7 separate regions of the Homo sapiens genome follow, and all the other regions are linked to region 4. Evidence: promoter capture Hi-C in 16 types of primary human blood cells and fetal thymus (Javierre and others, 2016). All regions are on one chromosome and are shown on one strand. Each heading gives the region's core, a stretch centred on a gene start or on the middle of the fragment in contact. The rest is flanking DNA. Distances are from core to core; before and after follow the strand shown. Region 1 overlaps ETNK1 (ethanolamine kinase 1). Region 2 overlaps ETNK1 (ethanolamine kinase 1). Region 3 has its middle 8.4 kb from the start of PYROXD1. Region 4 holds the start of CMAS (cytidine monophosphate N-acetylneuraminic acid synthetase). Region 5 overlaps ETNK1-DT (ETNK1 divergent transcript). Region 6 overlaps ETNK1 (ethanolamine kinase 1). Region 7 overlaps ETNK1 (ethanolamine kinase 1).

Region 1 (2,729 bases), core at 11-2,510, 620 kb before region 4:
ATTTCAATTTTCAAAATTATATTTAGAATTTGGCAAATACAGTTAAAATGGCAGGTAAAACATCCCTGCTTGTAGAGTAAATACAATTTAATTAAAGCATAGCACATTTTAACAAAAGTTAAAATCTGTTTCACTATGAAAATTTTAGCAATGACTTTTTGTAGTAACATTAATTAATTAAAACTAGCCTTTATTTTTAAATGCTATGTTGAGTTTATAAATAATGAAATTTTAAAAATAAGAAAATGAAGCTAACAAGATACAGATGAGGCTGTTACCAGGCTCCGTGCATGTGAACAAGTGATGCGATAAACCTCCAGTCAGTGCGTTTAAGAAGCACGGGGTGCGCCGCCACATGGCAGCAACAATGGCATACCTAATCTGTAGCAGATGAAGAAAATTTGGCAAACTCACATTGTACAAGACACAAAGCTTAAAAGGAAAAAAATTTAAAAAAAAAATCTGCATTAACTATTCTTTTTCAAACTATTGCAAACAAAGTGGAACTCAACCTTAAATTTAATCTTCTGCAACAAAGTAAAATTTAAAAAGCCAACTTCCCTTAGTTAGGGTGCCAGAAAAATCAAATTACTGGAAAATGCTTTCCTAACAACAGAAAATATACTTTTTCCTTCTATAAATTTAACTTCTGATTTCTAAAATTTCGCTTTATTTAAACGAATATCCACATCAGCATTAATAATTAACTAGCTCATATAGCATGATCATCATCTCAGTTCTTTAAGACATGAATTTTTAATTGGGGTTTCAAGGATGAAAAGACAACTAGAATATTCCCTAAAATTTTATGTGTATGTGCACTTTCTTAGGAAGAGATTCTCAATTTTTCAGATTCTCAAGGGACCCCTGACCTTTAAAAAGTAAAGAACTACTACTTTAAGGGCTAGGTGTGTTATTTTATTTATCTTTATGTAATTATCACAATGACAAGCACAAAGTAAAGTATATGATTAATGGATAAAACTACAATTTGAATTTTCCAAACCTACATTTTGTCTTTTATTACTTTATTTCTTGCATATCTTTATCAGCGTAATCAAATCCCGACACTACTGGTTAAACTGTTCAAATCTTAGTATACTAAAAATACTCTGCCAATTTTTAAAGTACTTTAAAACTAAAAAATAATAATGTATTACCCAAGGCTATATAATTATCACATGACATGTTTGTCTGAATTCCTTTATTTTGTTGTTAGGAGAAAGGAATAAAAATGAAAAGCAAAATAGTCAATATGAGAACCTGAAAAATCTTTCCAACTCACCCTACTTGCTCTGCAATGTTAGGCAGGTTCGAAGAGAACGATACGAAAAGTAACTATAATCCTACTAATGTTAGCAAAATGTTTTCTATTTTATACAGAAAAAGACAGGGAGTATTCTAGTCTGAAACACTTTCCCTTTAATCTTCACGCTGGTGTCCTGTAGTACTCTGTACCCCTTCACCAGAGCACTCATCATTCTAAATGTAAGTATCTGTTCAGTGATTGGACTCCTCCACTACAAGATACACAGCCTCCTGGAGGGGCACTAGGGTCCCTTCCCTCTTTTATCCTGCAATCCACAGAGCAATCCCTAGGACACAGGAAATATTTAAATGCTAGTAGAAAAAATGAAGTTTGCAGAAAATGCTGACACACAATAACACGTTTGCTGGGGGAGGGGAAAAGACAAAAAAGCATGAAAAACTAAAGAAAAAAGTGTGGTGTTTCTGACATTTTTATTCAAGTACAAGACTGAACACAGTGGGCCAGAATGAATGAATGAAAAAACAAACAAACTAGTACCTATATTAGGTCACTCTTTCTTCATAACTTCAGGTTTTTACAGTTCATTTAAGTTTTTTATTATCTGACTTACAGATATTTTATTTTCTGCTAACTAGTGGTTGAGAATACAAATTAAAACAGAGTTAAAAATTAAACTACATTTAAAAACACCACCCTAGAAAACATAGTTTACCAAACACAAAAATCAATTTGTATTTATTTAAATTTTTTAAAAGTACCAATGAAAAAACTCTTCTCAGTCATTAAAACATGAGTAACATGACAACTACAAAGCTTTCTCAGGAGTAATAATAGAATGGATAAGATTTAGAGCCAAACAAGTGACTATGGGGACTCACCCATTTTCTATTTATATTGTATAGAACTCTTAAAACAAAGCAAAATAAAACAAAACCTGATTTACTCTTTAATTCCCAGAAAAAGCTTTCCTTTTCTTCCACTCATTTGTATTTCCTTAAACAGCTGTAAATCAGCTTCTTGTATTGTGCTGACAGAGAAAATAAACAGTGATTGCCATTACTGAAATTTAAAGTTAAATATTAGGTATTTACATGAGCTTTTATGAAGAAATGGGGACAGCAGGAGAAATGAAAGTCACCAAAAGTCATGAGACCAATAAACATTCTGAGAGAACATCAAGACATGAGATAGAAATCTCAACAGCTTTAGTAATTTCTTGATGTCAGTAGTTAAATGATTAGTTGAAATTAAAATATTAGATTTGAAGTTAGTCATAGGCAATATTACAATTTATTCTGCTTAATATAAAGTCTATTAAATTAATGATTGATTTAAAAGATGACTGATAATTCCTATAGTTCTGGAGCAAGAACTGCTGCTTTTGGTTTCCTTATTATATATCAAATTCTATCACCATATCATTAAGTATTCTTTTCTTACCTTTTCAGGATGTCATTTC
Region 2 (2,700 bases), core at 39-2,538, 640 kb before region 4:
TTTATTGTTACAACGAATTTTTATTTACAGAATATAAATCTCTTCAAAAAGATACATTCCTTCATTTAATCAATGGTAAAAAGCCTTATTAACAGAAATAAAGCCTAAACATCACTTATATTTGAACTGAAAGACAAACAGCTTCATTAAAAGTTTATGAACACATAGTGAAAATGTATTTTTACTTAACCAGTTACATGAATGAGGCTGTTTTTAATTTTCTTCACTGCCAACCTCATTTTATCCACAGAACAAATTTTATTTAAATTAACAGTAGTAAAAATGTAAAACTTAAATTTTGAACATGAAAATATGAAACAAGAAAACAGGAAGTATCTTCATTATCAAACAGATTAACAAATTCTCAGACAGATATTTTCTGAGGCATAGCAAAACACCTACATCAAAAGTTGCATTCATTTAAGAGGTATCAATACATTTTCAGTGCTGAGACTATTTGTAGCACTTACATTATATACAAAGCAGCATTATACTACTATGGTTCACATTTGATAAACACGAATTTAAGCTTTATGCCACAATTTCCCAATTCAACATAAAGCTAACGCAATGACAGTTACCCAATTTCATTCTTTTTCTTCTGAAACTGAATAAGGAAATTATCATTTAAGCACATGGAATAATGGCCATGTCTTTTTCCTTTTAATAACAGTATATTTTAAAACTCAAATACTTCATATCATGGAAATTTGACCAAGCTGTACAAAGGCTCCTAAATACAGTACAGTCAAAAAGTTTCCTCTTTGCAGACTCAATTTATAGTCAATTTAGTACAGATAAATATAGGAAACTACTTCAGATTATTGGACAAATAAGAATTTCAGTGTGTCACTACCTATAATTAAGTAGCAGCACACCACAACCACAGCAAGTAAACACTAATCTCCTCTACTGCCTTTTTGGGGTCTTTTCCAGTCACAGGAGCTAATTTACAGGGATACCACTGGGTTTCAACCAATCTCTGAAAGTTCCTTTATTATGAGTTTTGAAATTTAACTAATGCATCACCTACAATTCTGTTGGCTAGTTTTTTTCTTACTCTTCACTAATTAGTTTTAAATACAATATGTAATGTTTTCAAATTTTTATAAACATAGGTGTTGTACTAAAATGATTAATGGCATTTGAAATACAACAAATGGGTAAGATGTTAACCAAAACAATGGGATTAAGAGTATTTTAGAAAGCGATTTTTTGTTAACTAGAAAAGCTACAGGATTCACAATGAATACAGATACAATATTTTTAACCCTGCTCTTTTATTACATCAGTAGTATAGTAAGTGCATAAAGTATAGAAGAGAAAGAAAATTTCAGGAGAGAAACTTACAAAAAACTTGAAGTTTGATGCGTCAAACACAAAATAGTTTAAAACAGTTTACAGTTCTTATAAGCACTATCATAATTTTTTCTACCCAAATAATTCAGGTCTTCATTCCATTTCAAACTGCAATCCAGAAATGAAGATTTTCAGTGTAAAAACTGTTCAGAGAAATCTAATTCATTATGTAATACATCTTATTAATTTCAGTTTTCAAGTATTCAAGTAATGCATACCCAAGTATTTTCTGTTACAGCAACACATTTACAGACTAAGCCTCAAACATGGGGAAAAATTCATTTAAAATAATTGATACACTTTTCTGTCCAACGACATCAAACCCAAGACATGACACTGGAATCACACAAGTGGTATATAAAAGTTAAAAATTTTAAAATAAGGTGGTTCAATATAAATAATGTCTTCTTTTCAAAAAGAACTGAAAACAGGTTATCTTAATACATAACTAAATTCCCAGTAAAAGGACATTCTGGAATCTAATGGACTAAAGAAAAACCAGAGCAAATCAATTTTGAAAGATGAAGCTGCTTTACCACATACTTAAAATGATTTTTCCTCTGTGCATAATAATTACTAGCATTTGTCTTCTGCATAAAGTCGCACAGGTTACTGTCAACAAGTTTCCTAGCATAAAGCATCGCTAACTTTGTCTATCAACTGAATGACTGATTGATTAAAAGCTTAAGTCTGTATCACTTTGGAATGCTTATTAAAAACAATTTAAAGCAGAAAATTGAAATGACAGTATTTTCACTTATATTATGAAGACAGAAATTCGTAAAATGGTACAGAAGGCTTCTGTGTAATGTAAAAAAGAAATATTTGTATAATTTTAAAAGTGGAGGGTTCTAACTTTTAATTGAGAGTGGGGGAAACTTTTTTTCTTTAAATCTGGAAGCTGTAGTAACATATTTATGAAGTTAAATATTTTTAGTTCAGCAAAAATGGAAATAATTGTCATTACAAGATTACTTAAGTCTTTTCTGTCTTTTATGATCCTATCATGATCAACTTTAAATTTAGAGAAGTCATTTGAGATATGCTTAAGTTGAACTAAAGACTTATTATTTGTCTAATTTCTGTATATATGGAAATTAGATTCACATTGGGATATCTAAAATTTCAAGGTTTTTTTGTAGAAAAAAATTAACAACCCTAAAAATAGGAAATTATTAAATTACATTTTTAATTTCCTTTAGCTTGGAATCATGACTCAAAGAACGGAGCTCTATTAATATAACAGTGTATAAATTCACTGCTTCCAGGAATCTAACCTCACAAAACCTAACGGCTAACTAAAAAATAAAGAAAAGTCTTATTAAGCACTGAGAGGCTAAA
Region 3 (2,700 bases), core at 12-2,511, 620 kb after region 4:
GATATGATATTTTGAGACCAGGTTGTTCTGTTGTTCTAGGTAGATAAATGTTACAGTCACCCCACAGTATCAGGAAGGAACTCACAGTATCAGGAAGGAACCCCCATCCAAAATTTGATTTGGATGTGAAGATTAATGATCACACACACATACACACACACACACACACACACACACACACTCACCCCATGAGGGAATGAAAAGGCTTATTACTTACATAATGAGGCTTTCTGGGGAGAATAGGACAGGATTATAAGCTGATCCAAAAATAGCTTGGAGAGCAGAGAAGGGTGACAGGCCCTGTTTTTAATGAGATTAGGTGATCGAGCTGGGGTGAGAGTTCTGGCACATACAGGCCAGTCCTTGTATGGCTTGAAAATCACGTGGGCACCAAGGGAGGGGCATACTGAAACCTTCTCAGACTGCCCAGATGTGGGGCAGCAAGGGACAGGGGAGTCGTGAGGCCTGAAAGCTTCCAGCAGTCAAACATCAACAATGGAATCAGGCTCTTTATTACAATAAGAGGCTTTCCTGCTGGGTTTCCAATGCTGTTTACTCGGTTTATAAAATTTCTAAGCTCTTCACAAGCGGTACCATGGAGCTTCATATTTCAATTTAAGTTTCAAACCATATCAACAGGAAATACTCTTATTAAGTTGTAAGTACACAAATTCCAAAGCCAAATATAAAACCTTTTTTATTATCCGCACCTCGTTTCTATAACTTTTGAATCATGATGAAAACTTCTAAAAGATGTCCTTCATAGTACGAAATAGTATAATTTGCATGTACTTTTCTGTATCCTTTATAAAGAAATAGATTTATAACTTTCATGCTGTTTTTGAATAAAACATTAGTACTTATGTTTCATGGCATTCATTCATTAATTGCTATGATTTCCATATATAAAATAATTGTGACAGCAGTTGAAAGAATTATTATTTAATGATCTGAGGCTTAATTATTTTCTATTTAATACATCAGGTAACATTTTAACATCAGTTACATTGAAGATCAGGGAAATTCAGATTTTTTTTTCATAATTAAATAAAATCAGGCCAGATATGGTGGTTCACACCTGTAATTTCAACACTTTGGGAGGGAGGCTGAGACTGGTGGATCGCTTGAGTCCAGGAGTTTGAGACCAAACTCGGCAATATGGCAAAAGTTCGTCTCTATAAAAAACACAAAATTAGCCAGGCATGGTGGTGCATGCCTGTGGTCTCAGCTACTCCAGAAGCTGAGATGGGAGGATCACCTTAGCCCAGGAGGGCAAGGCTGCAGTGAGCTATGATTGTACCATTTCACTCCAGCTTAGGTGACAGAGTGAGACCCTGTCTCAAAAAAAATTAAAAAAAAAAAAAACTGTTTTCAGGCTAGTTATTATACTAAAGAAAAAGGAAGAAGCAACACTTTCTACTCCTATTTTTGTTGATTAAAATAACTTGTGATTTCTAAAAAATAAATTAAGATGCAAAGAAAGTACAGCATAATTTATTCGTAATGAGTAAAATGTTAAATTATGGTATCGAATGTGGCTAATTTATTTCAGTTGACGGACAGTACCGAAATTAAAGATTTTTTATCTCTTAATTTTACTTCTTTTAGAAAGAAAAATGAAACACATTTGTTGTTTCAAATATTATTGCAGTACACATTAATTTTTTTAAGTTTAAACTAACCCCAAACATATGTATATGAACATTTAAGTAAATTTTCCCTTTTAATTTTGAAAATATATTCAAGTTTACATGAGATTTTAAAGTTTTAGCTGTCAAAATATCTTTACTCAGTTTATTTATGCTAACAATGGTGGACATTGAGAATGCTTGACCAAAAGCAGCAAGCTACAAAGGAAAAGAAACATTCTCATTTCATCTTCAAACTTTGGAGATACAAGTCTAAAAAATTTCTGGCTTGATTCAAGTCAGGCCATTTAGTGCGTAGATTACATTTAGCAAAAGAGCAGTTAAGAAAACATATTTGATATAACAACAAAAATAGTTATTCTTTTGGCCGTGAAATTGCATTCACAAAGGAAAAAGCTTTTTTTTTCTCAATAAGAAGAAATATTTATTTAAATGGACACATCAGCTGGCTGTGTTGTGATTTGAAATTATCTAAATTTTTGTCAGTTGACTAATAGTTACAGCATCAGATGTCTGTAAAGAACTTTCTTTTGCCCCAGCCGTCTGCCTCAGGAACGGACACTATGCTTTTCTGTATTTATTAATGTAACCTGTTGAAGAGGAATGTTAATGTCAATTGTCAGATGGTCATGACTTATGGATTCATAATGTAATTACCTTCCTTATATTCAAAGGTAATTGAGAAATAAGTCAAAACATTTTACAGATCTAATTATATTGCAAAAACATGAATTACTTTTTGACAATATTCCTATTTTTGTTTTACTTCTTTGGTTACTTTTTTTCTCTTTCCTGTGATTATTCTTTTTTTTTTTACCTGCCCCTAAATGTAGTTGTTTCTCAAAGCCATCTTCTTTACCAAATTTTCTTCTCTTTCTATATGTCCTTTATCAGTACATTTACTCCTACTTGCCTATCAAATATTCATTATTCCCTGCTTTCTTACTAAAGGAACCCCAATTTTGTTTGAATTGACAATGTGCCATCCAAAAACACTTGTTTTTCTAGACTCTTTTAGCTAAGGTAGCCATGGTACACAGTTCTAGCCAAT
Region 4 (2,700 bases), core at 76-2,575:
CTGGTTAAATGAAAATCATTTACCCATATATTAATATGGGTAAGCAAATATAGGTTCAAAAAGAAAAAGAGATGACTTCAAAAACAGTCATCTCTTTAAAAATCGAAACATCAAAAGGTTAACATAAATTAATTTCCACAATAACAACACATTCAAATGTAGTTAGGTTGAAGCTATATGTGTAAATTCATTCTTGGCACAGAATTCGATCTCCCTTCTTTTATGAATAACATCAGCTTGTAACTCCTGACCAATTTGGCAATGTATCTAAATTACGCATAATTAAAACTGTCCATAGGGCAGGCGAGGTTCCAAAGGTATGATTAAATGATTTGTAAGTATTAATATATCATAAAACAGTCAGTTGTACACCTTCCCACTGAGTCTCACGTATTTATAAATGTAGGGAGTTTTCTAGATTGTGCTGACTCACAGGAAGATAGCTGGAGTATTTTTCAAAGGTTAGGAAAAGATCTCCAAGCTGAGCTTGAAATTCAGCTCTGACACCCCGACACTCAACTCCATTCATGAACCTGATGCCTCCCTAATCGAGCAGCACCAAGCAGTTATCAGAGGCTGAGCAACAGGGGAGCTTCGATGGCCCCCATCCAAAGAAGTTCACATATTATCACAGATGTTGCACCGGGGTGGCCTCCTTTACTTTTCCCCGTAAGGTCAACCCGGGAGGAGGGGACGGTTGGGGAGGTGTAATCTCCCCTTTTACGGATGATTCTCAAGGGCGGAGACAGGAACTGTCCCAGGTTATGACCATTGGCAGCTACGGAACAAGGAAGGAGCTGGAGCCCTTCCTCCTGGGCTCTCAGCCCGGCCCCAGGCACCCCGGATCTTGCACATCCCTGGCATGAGAGATGGCCCCCTTCCAAGAGCGGTGGCCCCGGAGGCCCCAGCCCCTCCAGCAGCCCGACTCCCTCTCCCGACCCCCGCCCAGGCCGCGCCGCCCACTCTCGCACATGCGCACCTCTGGAAGGCCCCTGAATCCAGGGCCGCACGCAGGACCCAGCCAATGAGCGGGACCCCCGCCAGGTGCTTAATGTTCTTCAGGGGGATGCCTTTGCTGCCTCCCCGGGCCAGAATTAGGGCTGCCAGGTGCGGGGGCTTCTCCACACCTCGGCCCTGGCCGCCGCGAGAGTTGCGCTGCAGCTTCGGCGGCCGGCCCCGGGACGGTCGCCCCCGCGGGTTGGAGACGGAGGTGGCGGCCCCCTTCTCCACCGAGTCCATCTTCCTCCCACGCCTTCTCCCCAGCTTCTCCACATCCGGGAGCTAGTCCCTCACCACCTCAGCTCGGCGCCGCCCGATCCCCGCCTGGCAGCTGGCGCGCGCGGCCGTCCCTCGCCCCGCCCCCTCCCCCGCCCCTCGCGGTGCTCGCTGGGAATTGTAGTCCGCGGCCGCCTCGTCTGGGGCCAGTAGGCCAAGTAGGCTCTGATGAGGTGACCCCAAAACTAAGTCAAGCAGTGGGAGTCCAGAGATATTTGGAGGAAGTGCGGCTTTTGGGGTGCTTGCAAGTGTCTGTAAATTTCTAAAATTAAAAAAGAAAAAAAGTATTTATAATTGCTGAAGAACTTCCCCACTTTAGAATTGTGGTGGGTTTCCCGTTGCATACCTTGATGCACCCTGACACGAATCCATTTTATATTTTAAAATGTACATTTTAAACATACACCTTTTTTTAATGCCCCTGGGTCATTTTTTCCAAGAAATTACTGACCAGCTCATTCAAATATCCTACAGGCGCCTTAAACTCAACGTTTTAAAAACTCCATTTTTCATATGCTCTCCGCACTTTGATCGACATCAGCATTCCCTAGCAGCAGAAATTTGGAAGTCAGCTTTACTGGTCACCTCTAGTGTGGCCGACACTTGGTTTTTTGGTTTTGTTTTGTTGTCTGCTAAAAATCTTTTCCTTTTAGGAATTGATCCCTCTCTCATCCGGTGAGGGTTTCCCTCACATTCTCTGCACTGTGTGTGACCCAAGCTGGTCCATCTACGCACCCCATTTTCCTTAACACACCTGTGGTCTAGGGACAGGCATATGACCAAGCAGAGCCCACTGGAGTCCTTTCCAGAGAGTCTTGGAAAGAAAGGATCTTTCTCGTGCTGACTGGGTGCTAAGGACCTTGTTAACCTGAAGCCTCAGGGCAAGGGTAGGGTAGGGCGGCAGGGGGGCTTTGCTGTTCTGAAATGGGCTGGAAGACTGATGTTCTCCCTGAGGAAGCAGAACAATGACATGTAGGGATTAAAGAGAAAGAATTCTGGAGGCATCATTTAAACTCTTTTTTTTTTTTGAGACAGATTCTCACTGTGTCCCCCAGAAGGCTGGAGTGCAGTGGCACAATCTCGGCTCGCTGCAACCCTCTGCCACCCATTCTCAAGCGTCCTGAGTAGCTGGGATTACAGAGGGGCACCACCACACCCAGATAATTTTTGTATTTTTAGTTGAGTTGGGGGTTTCACCAGGTTGGCCAGGCTGGTCTTGAACTCCTGACCTCAAGTGATCTGCCCGCCTCAGCCTCTCAAAGTGCTGGGATTATAGGCATGAGCCGCCACGCCTGAGCATTTAAACCCTGATCCAGCCAAGAGGCTCAAAGACATACACCCACACACACCTCTCTTAGGAAAAAAAAAAAAAGAGACTTTAAAGCAGGCATCTCTGACCTAGCATGCATTTTGTCTTTCAGCATG
Region 5 (2,700 bases), core at 126-2,625, 560 kb before region 4:
AGTAACACGATCTGGAAAGACAGCGCTAGCAAGGAATGAGGAGTGATACAGTGACTGGAGGCTAAGAGATAATGTCTGCAAGTCACCTAAAACCATTGCAGACACAGGGAGATTGATGGATTTGGAGGACTTCTGGTTGTGAAGACTCTGACGATTGCTAAAGAGTTAAGTGAAATACTAGCGTGGTTTTTTTGTGTGTGTTTTTTGTTTGTTTGTTTGTTTGTTTGTTTATAAAAACAGGCAGAATGTAGCCCTATTAATTGTAAACTGGCAAGATAAACCAGGATGCCAGTAACCACTAGACGACAGATTGTCAAGAAATCCAGTAATAACCATCCACAAGAGTTTAAAGTACAGTGAGGCAAAATCCTGATGGCTTTAAAAGAATAAAGCCTACTGTACCAATTAGTAAACTTTTATGATAGTGTTAGACCATTAGTGATAATGAGGAAACATTGGATTTAATATATTTGAACTGTGGTAAGATGTGATTCTTTCTTTTTGTCAACACATTAAAACCATATGGTTTAGAATCCAGTATTATAAATTAGAAAATTGACTGGAAATCTATCCAACTGGTTCACAGTGCTATTGCTGCTGAAATTTACTAAATGGGTCTATTTAAGGATCAGTCCAAGGGATTTTTAATATACTTATAGGAGACAAGGATGAGACATTTTACAAAAAAAACAGTAGGAGTTTCTACCCACTCATACACCTCTGAGTCAGTGTTTAGAAACAGTTAATTGCCAAACTGAGGTACACCTTCTTGACCCAAAACCGTATGTCTGAAACAAATATGTAAGAGGTGTCCAAACACAGACCTTCAGATGGAAAAAATAAAAAGGAAGGTGGGGAAGGGGAAGAGGCAGAGTGGTAGAAAAACCTAAATAATATAAGATGTCCTAATTAACTATAAAAGGAATACAAAACTTATGTATTTAGATAGATACAAATTGCCTCCTTTAATGTTAGTTATCTCATGAGTTTATCACAAAATAATAAATGATAAAAGCAGTACACATGACAAATCATAAAAAACCAAAATTATCAACCTGAGGGTGAAAAGAAGGACCAAATATTATGAAGCAAATGAATTCTTCTAAGTAAAAACTGAGTCAAAAGGAAATTTAAAATATATTGTATTAGGCCATTCTTGCATTACTATAAAGAAATACTTGAGCTTGGGTAATTTATAAATAAATGAGATTTCATTGGCTCACAGTTATGTAGGCTTTACAGGAAGCATGGTGCTGGCATCTGCTCAGCTTCTAGGGAGGCCTCACCAAGCTTACAATCATGGTGGAAGGTGGAGGGGGACCAGGCACATCACATGGTGAAAGCAGGTGAAAGTGAGAAAGAGAGTAGAGTGAGGAGGTGCCACACACTTTTAAATGACCAGATCTCGAGTGAATTTAAAGCAAGAACTGACCTATCACCAATGGGATGGCCTAAGCTTTTCATGAGGGATCCATTCCCATGGTCCAAACACCTGCCACCAGGCCTCACCTCCAGCACTGGAGATTATATTTCAACATGAGATTTAGCTGGGGACAAATATCCAAACTATGCATATATTAATACTATTTTCAAATTTATTGATAAGAAAAGTATATACAAAAACGGGCTACTGCTAAATCAGAAATTTTTTTATTATCAGAATAGGGCAAGAGAAAATAAGCACTGTGTTTAACATTTAAAAAAATATCAGGGCTGGGTGCAGTGGCTCATGCCTATGATCGTAGCATTTTGGGAGGCCGAGGAGGTGAGCGGATGACCTGAGCTCAGGAGTTCGAGACCAGCCTGGGCAATGTGGCAAAACCCCGTCTCCACAAAAAATACAAAAATTAGCCAGATATGGTGGCTTGCACCTGTAGTCCCAGCTACTTGGGAGACTGAGGTGGGAGGATTGTTTGAGCCTGGGAGGTAGAGGTTGCAGTTTGCTGGGATAGCACCACTGCACTGTGTCTCAAAAACAAAAACAAAAACCTGCAGGGAGGGGAAATGGGAAGAGCAGTCTCCAGAAAATCAATCTCTCAGCTTAGCCAAGGCTACCTCAGCTATAATAGAATATGCAAATATAAATGGGATTCTGTTGTGCCACCAATAACCAGTTTGGGGGAAAATATTTTTTCAAAAAAAAAAAAAAGATTGCATAGGCATATGCAGCATAAAGAGTAAGTTACTCAGGAATAAAGATGTGCAAGAACTTTTTCTTCTTTGGTATATGCTCATTTTTTAAATTATAAAATATTAAAATGTAAAAAGAAACAAATAGTGTCTTTTTTCTACTCAGCAATAATTACAAATAACATTAGCTCCACATGGTTTCGTTAAAAATAATTTAATCCAAATGGTGATTAGTCTAAATGACAAAGTGGTCAAAACCCATTCTCAGTAATTAACTTTTACACATGATGCTCCATTTACCAATTTCTCAATCATTATGCATCTTTAATAATTTTTGTCTGTTTTGGAATTTTTCAGATGGTTTTCCTGTTTTTCTTAAGTATTTTCAGCTAATTCTATAGGTCTGAGCTACATGAACACTGAAATTTTAAAAATAACCTAAATACTAAGTGGGAAACAAGAAATTTGTGTTACCCAGGCCCCATAAACTTAGGCAGTCAATAAATTAAAATGTAGTCACAAAAAGTATCCATTGAAATGAAAAACAAAATAAGGTGATCAAACCGTACA
Region 6 (2,700 bases), core at 124-2,623, 580 kb before region 4:
CGAGACCAGCCTGGCCAACATGGTGAAACCCCGACTCTACTAAAAATACAAAAATTAGCTGAGCATGGTGGCGCACATCTGTAATCCAAGCTACTTGGGTGGCTGAGGCACGAGAATCACTTGAACCTGGGAAACGGAGGTTGCAGTGAGCTGAGATCACACCACTGCACTCCAGCCTGGGCTACAGCGAGACTCTGTCTCAAAAAAAATAAAATAAAATAAAATAAAATACAAAAAGAAAAATATCCAGTGGCTTCCCATGATGTCCTAAATGATGAGTAAGCTACTCAAAGTCTAGCTTCATTGCCTTTGTGAGATAGTTTTCCTTGCTCAGAAATGTTTCCCTTTTCAATCTGATCTCATCTACCCTTCAAAGCTTAGCTCAGGTACCCCCACCTCTATGAAGCCTTCTGTCCTACGTTCTTCTATGCCTACCTTGTGCTACAGTTAGTTGTACAAGGACTCTTACTGAAAACTAGCATTACAGCTAGTACAAAAAACACATGTCAGAATTACTGAATTTTAGGAGCTCACAATTCTCTCAGTTGGGATGGGAGAATTGGAAATGAGAGGTGGAAGAACGTAGTACCAAAACATGCGATGCGTAATTGTAGGTATTTCATTGAATTCTCATGACTACTTTCCAAGGTAATACCATTTTATAGAGACTTTAAAACTTGCCAAAGGTTATAAATGGCTGGAAATAATATTCAAAAACCATCCTCTTTCCACATTATGCTCAGTCCCCAAAAAGATGTGACGCAGTTTGTGTAGTCCAAGTTACATGGCTATTATACAGGAAAACAAACTAGCACTTTAGGCTCCTGTCTTCATAGTCACATCTTAATAAAATACATGGGAGCCTAACAAATATTTCATGTTTTTGATGGGCGTCTATTAAACATTATATACTTTATTATTCTAAAATGCTGAAGACAGGGAGGGAATAGGAAACAGAAAACTGGATGTAATCACTAACATTAAAAGTTACACTGAATATAAACCATGACTCCTTATTTGTATCTACAGGACTCAAGATTTCCTATAATCTTAGGGAAAGTAAACTAATATATTGTTTACTTTTTTAATATATTAAAAAATTAGCCGTAACTTACTACATTAGCTTACCTAAGACTTTTCAGAAGCTACTGCTTAAAGGAACAAACTCATCTTTTTAAAAACAGAAAAGAAAATCAATTATTATATCAGAACACTAGTGGAGACATAACTTAACACAGCAATTGTATAGATCTGGCTTTTTCTTCTTCCTTTAAGGCAAAGACCAATATAAAATATCAACTATCAATATTAAGAGGAGTTACAGGTTTTTAATAGATTATTTAGGTAACTACCTCCAACACTGTTAGAAAGAGGAAGGATATGAAAACTGCTGTGTAGCTACACAACCTAACACAAAGATTAATTTCCATGATAGAATACATATGCTTAAAAAAATGATGAAAAGATTTTTTAAAATATGCATTCAATAACAGGCAAAAACCTGTAGTAAAGCAGAAAGAACAGTACATTTTTTAAACTTCTTGGGTAATCTTTGCATGTGAACTAAATTTGAATGTTCATTCCATAAACATTACGTTGTTATAATTTTCTTATTTGTCTTCCCCATCGGACTAGGAATTTCAAAGAGCAAATATTTGTTTTTTGATTCAAGTATCCAATATATAGTAGGTGCTCAGCAGCAATAATAATTATCATGAAAGACAGCATTTATTTTACCCTCACAATAACCCATTGAGGTAGGGACAACTACTGGATCAATTTTACAGCTCAGGATACTGAGACAGGAAGTTTAATGATTTGACCAGAGTAACAAAGCTAGTAAAGTATAGAATCTGGACTCAAAACTAGCACTGTGTTCAAACCCCATGCTCTTGAGCACTGTAACACACTGTTATTGAAAAGCTAAGTTGCTATAAGGTACCATATAGCAAGCAATCTCATTTAGACCCAACAAAGGAATAAATATATTAGTTTTGTAATGTTAAATAATAATTACGGTATTAATTCCTACCTATGAAGCCTTTGCCATTATCTACTATAAGTCCCAAGTAATGGAAAAATTCATAGTGACAAGTTAGTGAGAAAAACAACGTTGCTTAATACTGCAAACAGAAAGACCCTGAGACAACATAACTGGAATATTCCAAACACTAATTCATCAGCTCTTCAGAAAATGAAAAACAATTTTAAGAGTCCGTTGAGAATTATTATGGACCTGAGATCTGACTTGATTCTTTATTCCTTTATACGATGACTCTCCAAAGAAAAGTATAAAAATTAAAAATCAAAATCTTCAAATAAGTTAAACAGTTGTTACACAACAAAAGTAACTCGTGAAGGAAAGCTTAAGTAATCCCTTTTTCCTAAAATGGTGTCACATATGAAAAAAGTAATGCAAATTTATGTTCAAGGGAACTTTAAAGCAGAATCTTTTTATGAGCCAAAGCTTTTAAGAAATTAATTTTATACAGAAGCACCTTCCCTGCCTAAATCATAATATACAAACAAAACTCTTGGTCATAGAACAATAATTCATAAGATGGTTTATCATCTCAGATCTGCCATTTGTAAACGGCAAATTCAGTTTCATTAACTATATGATACATATTAACAGTACCGTCTACATCTACCTCACAGGATAGTTGGGAGAATGCATGTGAAAGTGCTTTATAAACAGTA
Region 7 (2,700 bases), core at 158-2,657, 600 kb before region 4:
TCTGACACATGCTATACAACATAAATGAACCTTGAAGTGTTCATGCTAAGTGAAATAAGCCAGTCACAAAAAGACAAACATTACATGATTCCACTAACATGATGTACCTAAGTAGTCAAATTCCTAGGGATAGAAAGTAGATGACGGTTGCCAGGGGCTGGAGGAAGGAAAGAAGATTTGTTGTTTAAAAAGCATAGAATTGGCCAGGCGTGGTGGCTCACGCCTGTAATCCCAGCATTTTGGGAGGCCGAGGTGGGCAGATCACCTGAGGTCTGGAGTTCGAGACCAGCCTGGCCAACATGGTGAAACCCGTCTCTACTAAAAAATACAAAACTCGGCAGGGCGAGGTGGTGGGCACCTATAGTCCCAGCTACTCGAGAGGCTGATGCAGGAGAATCACTTGAACCTGGGAGGCAGAGATTGCACTTGAACCTGGGAGGCACCACTGCACACCAGGCTGGGCGACATGGCGAGACTCTGTCTCAAAAAAAAAAAAAAAAAAAAGGGATAGAATTGTAGTTTTACATTATAAAAAAAAAATATGTTAGGAAATTAGTTGCACAACCATGTGAATGCAATAACACTATTGAGCTGTATTTTTTAAAAAATGGTTAAGATGGTGACAACTGGAGCCAGAAAGAAATGATTTAGGCAGATAGTGAGGGTAAAGGAGTTCTCGGTAAGGACTCCCTTTTAATAGAAAGCAGCCCCCAAATCACTTCTAACAAAGAGCAGCCTGAAAATTCAAGCTGCAGACATAGATAAGCAAGCTAGAAGCTTGCATGAGTGAATGCCAGCAGCTGTGCCAGTAGAAAAGGGCTACCTGGAAGTCAGGTATGTTCACAACGGAGCCTTCATCTTCCCTTTTCTTTGTCACCATGTGTCTAGTAAAAGAGGCAGGCAACATGGCACTGGCCAAGTAGAGAACCATCTGCATAATAAAAGATTAAAGTGGGGCCACCAGCTTCTACATGCTTTATGCAAAAGGCACGCCTGGTCCGACCAATCTTCCGTGCCCTCTGCAAATCAAACACTGCCTCCTCAAGTTAATCTATAAAACCCTGTACATTACACCACAGAACTGGCAACCCATTTTCTCTGGGACCCCTCTCTGCACAGAGAGCTCTTCTCTTTCTTTTGCCTATTAAACTTCCACTCTTAACCTCACTCTGGTTGTCTGTATCCTAGTTTTCTGTAGTTGTGGAACAACCAACCTCAGGTATTACCCCAGATAAAAATGCTGCTTCAATGGTAAATTTTATGTAGCATTTACCATAATCAAATTTTTTCAGAACAACTATAAACAAATCAAATTTTTATTAACTAAATAAAATGCTCATTGAAAAAGAATTCTTAAAAACACTTTAATCAAGTATACCTCAATTGTTTTCTGCTAGCAAATATTATATACAACAGAAAATGCTACATTTTTATATTTCCTATTTATTTAAAAGATTATTTTTAAATGTTTATTTTTTATATAATATATTTGCTGACACAAAACACAAGCAAATCAAATCCAACAATATATAAAAAGAAATTATACACTGTGACCAAGTGGGATTATCTCAGGTATACAAGGCTGGTTCAATATTTGAAAATTCATTAATGTAATCCAATACATTAACAGACTAAAAAAGAAAAATCACATGAACCTATCGACATGTGCAGAAAAAGCATTTTGCAAAATCTAGCACTCATTATCATAAAAACTCAGCAAACTAGGAATAAAGAGAGAGTATCTTCAATCTGATAAAGAATATCTACAAAAAAAACTACAGCTAACATCCTACTTAATGACACGTAATTTGAAGATTTCCCACTAAGATCAGGAATAAAGAAAGAACATCACTTTTCACCAATCCTTTTTAACACTGTACTGAAAGTCCTAGCTAACACATTAAGACAAGAAAAAAAATAAGAGGTAAGAAAAAAAAAAAACTGTCTTTGTTCATAGATAACATGATTTTCTATGGAGAAAATCCAAAAGAATGGACCAAAAAAACCTCGCGGAATGAGCAATTATAGCAAGCTTGCAGGATTAAAAAAATATGAAAGTCAATTGCTTTCCTACATACCAGTAATGAATATGTGAAAATTGAAAATAAAATGCACTCCTTTTACAGTAACACCCCCAAAAATACAATACTTAGGTATAAATCTAACAAACTATGTACAAGATTTATATGAGGAAGACTATAAAACTCTGATAAAAGAAACCAAATAACTAAATAAGAGATATTCCATGTTCACGGATAAAAAGACTCAATACTGCCAAGATGTCAGTTCTTCCCAATTTGATATACAGATTCAGTGCAATTCCTATCAAAATCCCAGCAAGTTATTTTGTGATATTGAAAAACTGATTCTAAAGTTTACATGTATACTGTATCCCAAATATACACAATTATTATTTGTCAATTAAAAATAAATTCTTAAAAAGTCCATTTTAAAATGTAAAAACTAAAGTTTATAAGGAGAAGCAAAAGGCCCAGAATAGCCAACACAATATTGAAAGACAAGAACAAGTTGGAGGACTAACACTACCTGATTTCAAGACTTACCATAAAGCTATAGCAATTAAGGTAGTGTGATATCTGCAAAAGATTAGACAAACAGATGAAGAAACAGAATAGAGAACCCAGAAACAGACCCATATAAATACAGTCAACTGATTTTTGAAAAGGAGCATAGGAAATA

The links. Contacts are between HindIII fragments. The CHiCAGO score rates a contact against its expected background, and 5 or more counts as called.
Region 1: a fragment that was not itself captured here is called in contact with the fragment with the promoter of CMAS in region 4 in 1 of 17 cell types (activated CD4 T cells); the score reaches 6.2 in activated CD4 T cells.
Region 2: a fragment that was not itself captured here is called in contact with the fragment with the promoter of CMAS in region 4 in 3 of 17 cell types (monocytes, erythroblasts and M2 macrophages); the score reaches 5.7 in monocytes.
Region 3: a contact is called between a fragment that was not itself captured here and the fragment with the promoter of CMAS in region 4, in 1 of 17 cell types (total CD4 T cells). The highest score is 5.4, in total CD4 T cells.
Region 5: a contact is called between a fragment that was not itself captured here and the fragment with the promoter of CMAS in region 4, in 2 of 17 cell types (activated CD4 T cells and total B cells). The highest score is 8.2, in activated CD4 T cells.
Region 6: a contact is called between a fragment that was not itself captured here and the fragment with the promoter of CMAS in region 4, in 13 of 17 cell types (non-activated CD4 T cells, erythroblasts, total CD4 T cells and 10 more). The highest score is 14.2, in non-activated CD4 T cells.
Region 7: a contact is called between a fragment that was not itself captured here and the fragment with the promoter of CMAS in region 4, in 1 of 17 cell types (erythroblasts). The highest score is 5.7, in erythroblasts.

What each region holds. Positions count from the first base shown.
Region 1 is chr12:22,666,250-22,668,978 of GRCh38, reverse strand. All of the region lies in intron 4 of ETNK1 (ethanolamine kinase 1), which reads right to left. Among named protein-coding and RNA genes, the nearest start is that of LINC02955, 32 kb to the left of the region's middle. The HindIII fragment of the contact is 1,651 bases long and covers 435-2,085 here.
Region 2 is chr12:22,687,949-22,690,648 of GRCh38, reverse strand. ETNK1 (ethanolamine kinase 1) reads right to left here. Exons shown (of 8, transcript NM_018638.5): 8 at 1-2,700. Among named protein-coding and RNA genes, the nearest start is that of LINC02955, 11 kb to the left of the region's middle. The HindIII fragment of the contact is 1,513 bases long and covers 532-2,044 here.
Region 3 is chr12:21,427,879-21,430,578 of GRCh38, reverse strand. No RefSeq gene overlaps it. Among named protein-coding and RNA genes, the nearest start is that of PYROXD1, 8.4 kb to the left of the region's middle. The HindIII fragment of the contact is 1,573 bases long and covers 475-2,047 here.
Region 4 is chr12:22,044,843-22,047,542 of GRCh38, reverse strand. It overlaps CMAS (cytidine monophosphate N-acetylneuraminic acid synthetase), which reads right to left and starts at 1,325. Exons shown (of 8, transcript NM_018686.6): 1 at 980-1,325. The coding sequence starts at 1,239. RefSeq lists enhancers at 193-898, 1,214-1,508 and silencers at 1,201-1,428, 1,072-1,441. The HindIII fragment of the contact is 10,395 bases long and covers 1-2,700 here.
Region 5 is chr12:22,607,047-22,609,746 of GRCh38, reverse strand. It overlaps ETNK1-DT (ETNK1 divergent transcript), which reads left to right. Exons shown (of 4, transcript NR_135030.1): 2 at 1-164. Among named protein-coding and RNA genes, the nearest start is that of ETNK1-DT, 17 kb to the left of the region's middle. The HindIII fragment of the contact is 166 bases long and covers 1,293-1,458 here.
Region 6 is chr12:22,628,132-22,630,831 of GRCh38, reverse strand. All of the region lies in intron 1 of ETNK1 (ethanolamine kinase 1), which reads right to left. Among named protein-coding and RNA genes, the nearest start is that of ETNK1, 4.3 kb to the right of the region's middle. The HindIII fragment of the contact is 1,989 bases long and covers 379-2,367 here.
Region 7 is chr12:22,649,487-22,652,186 of GRCh38, reverse strand. All of the region lies in intron 2 of ETNK1 (ethanolamine kinase 1), which reads right to left. Among named protein-coding and RNA genes, the nearest start is that of ETNK1, 26 kb to the right of the region's middle. The HindIII fragment of the contact is 1,255 bases long and covers 780-2,034 here.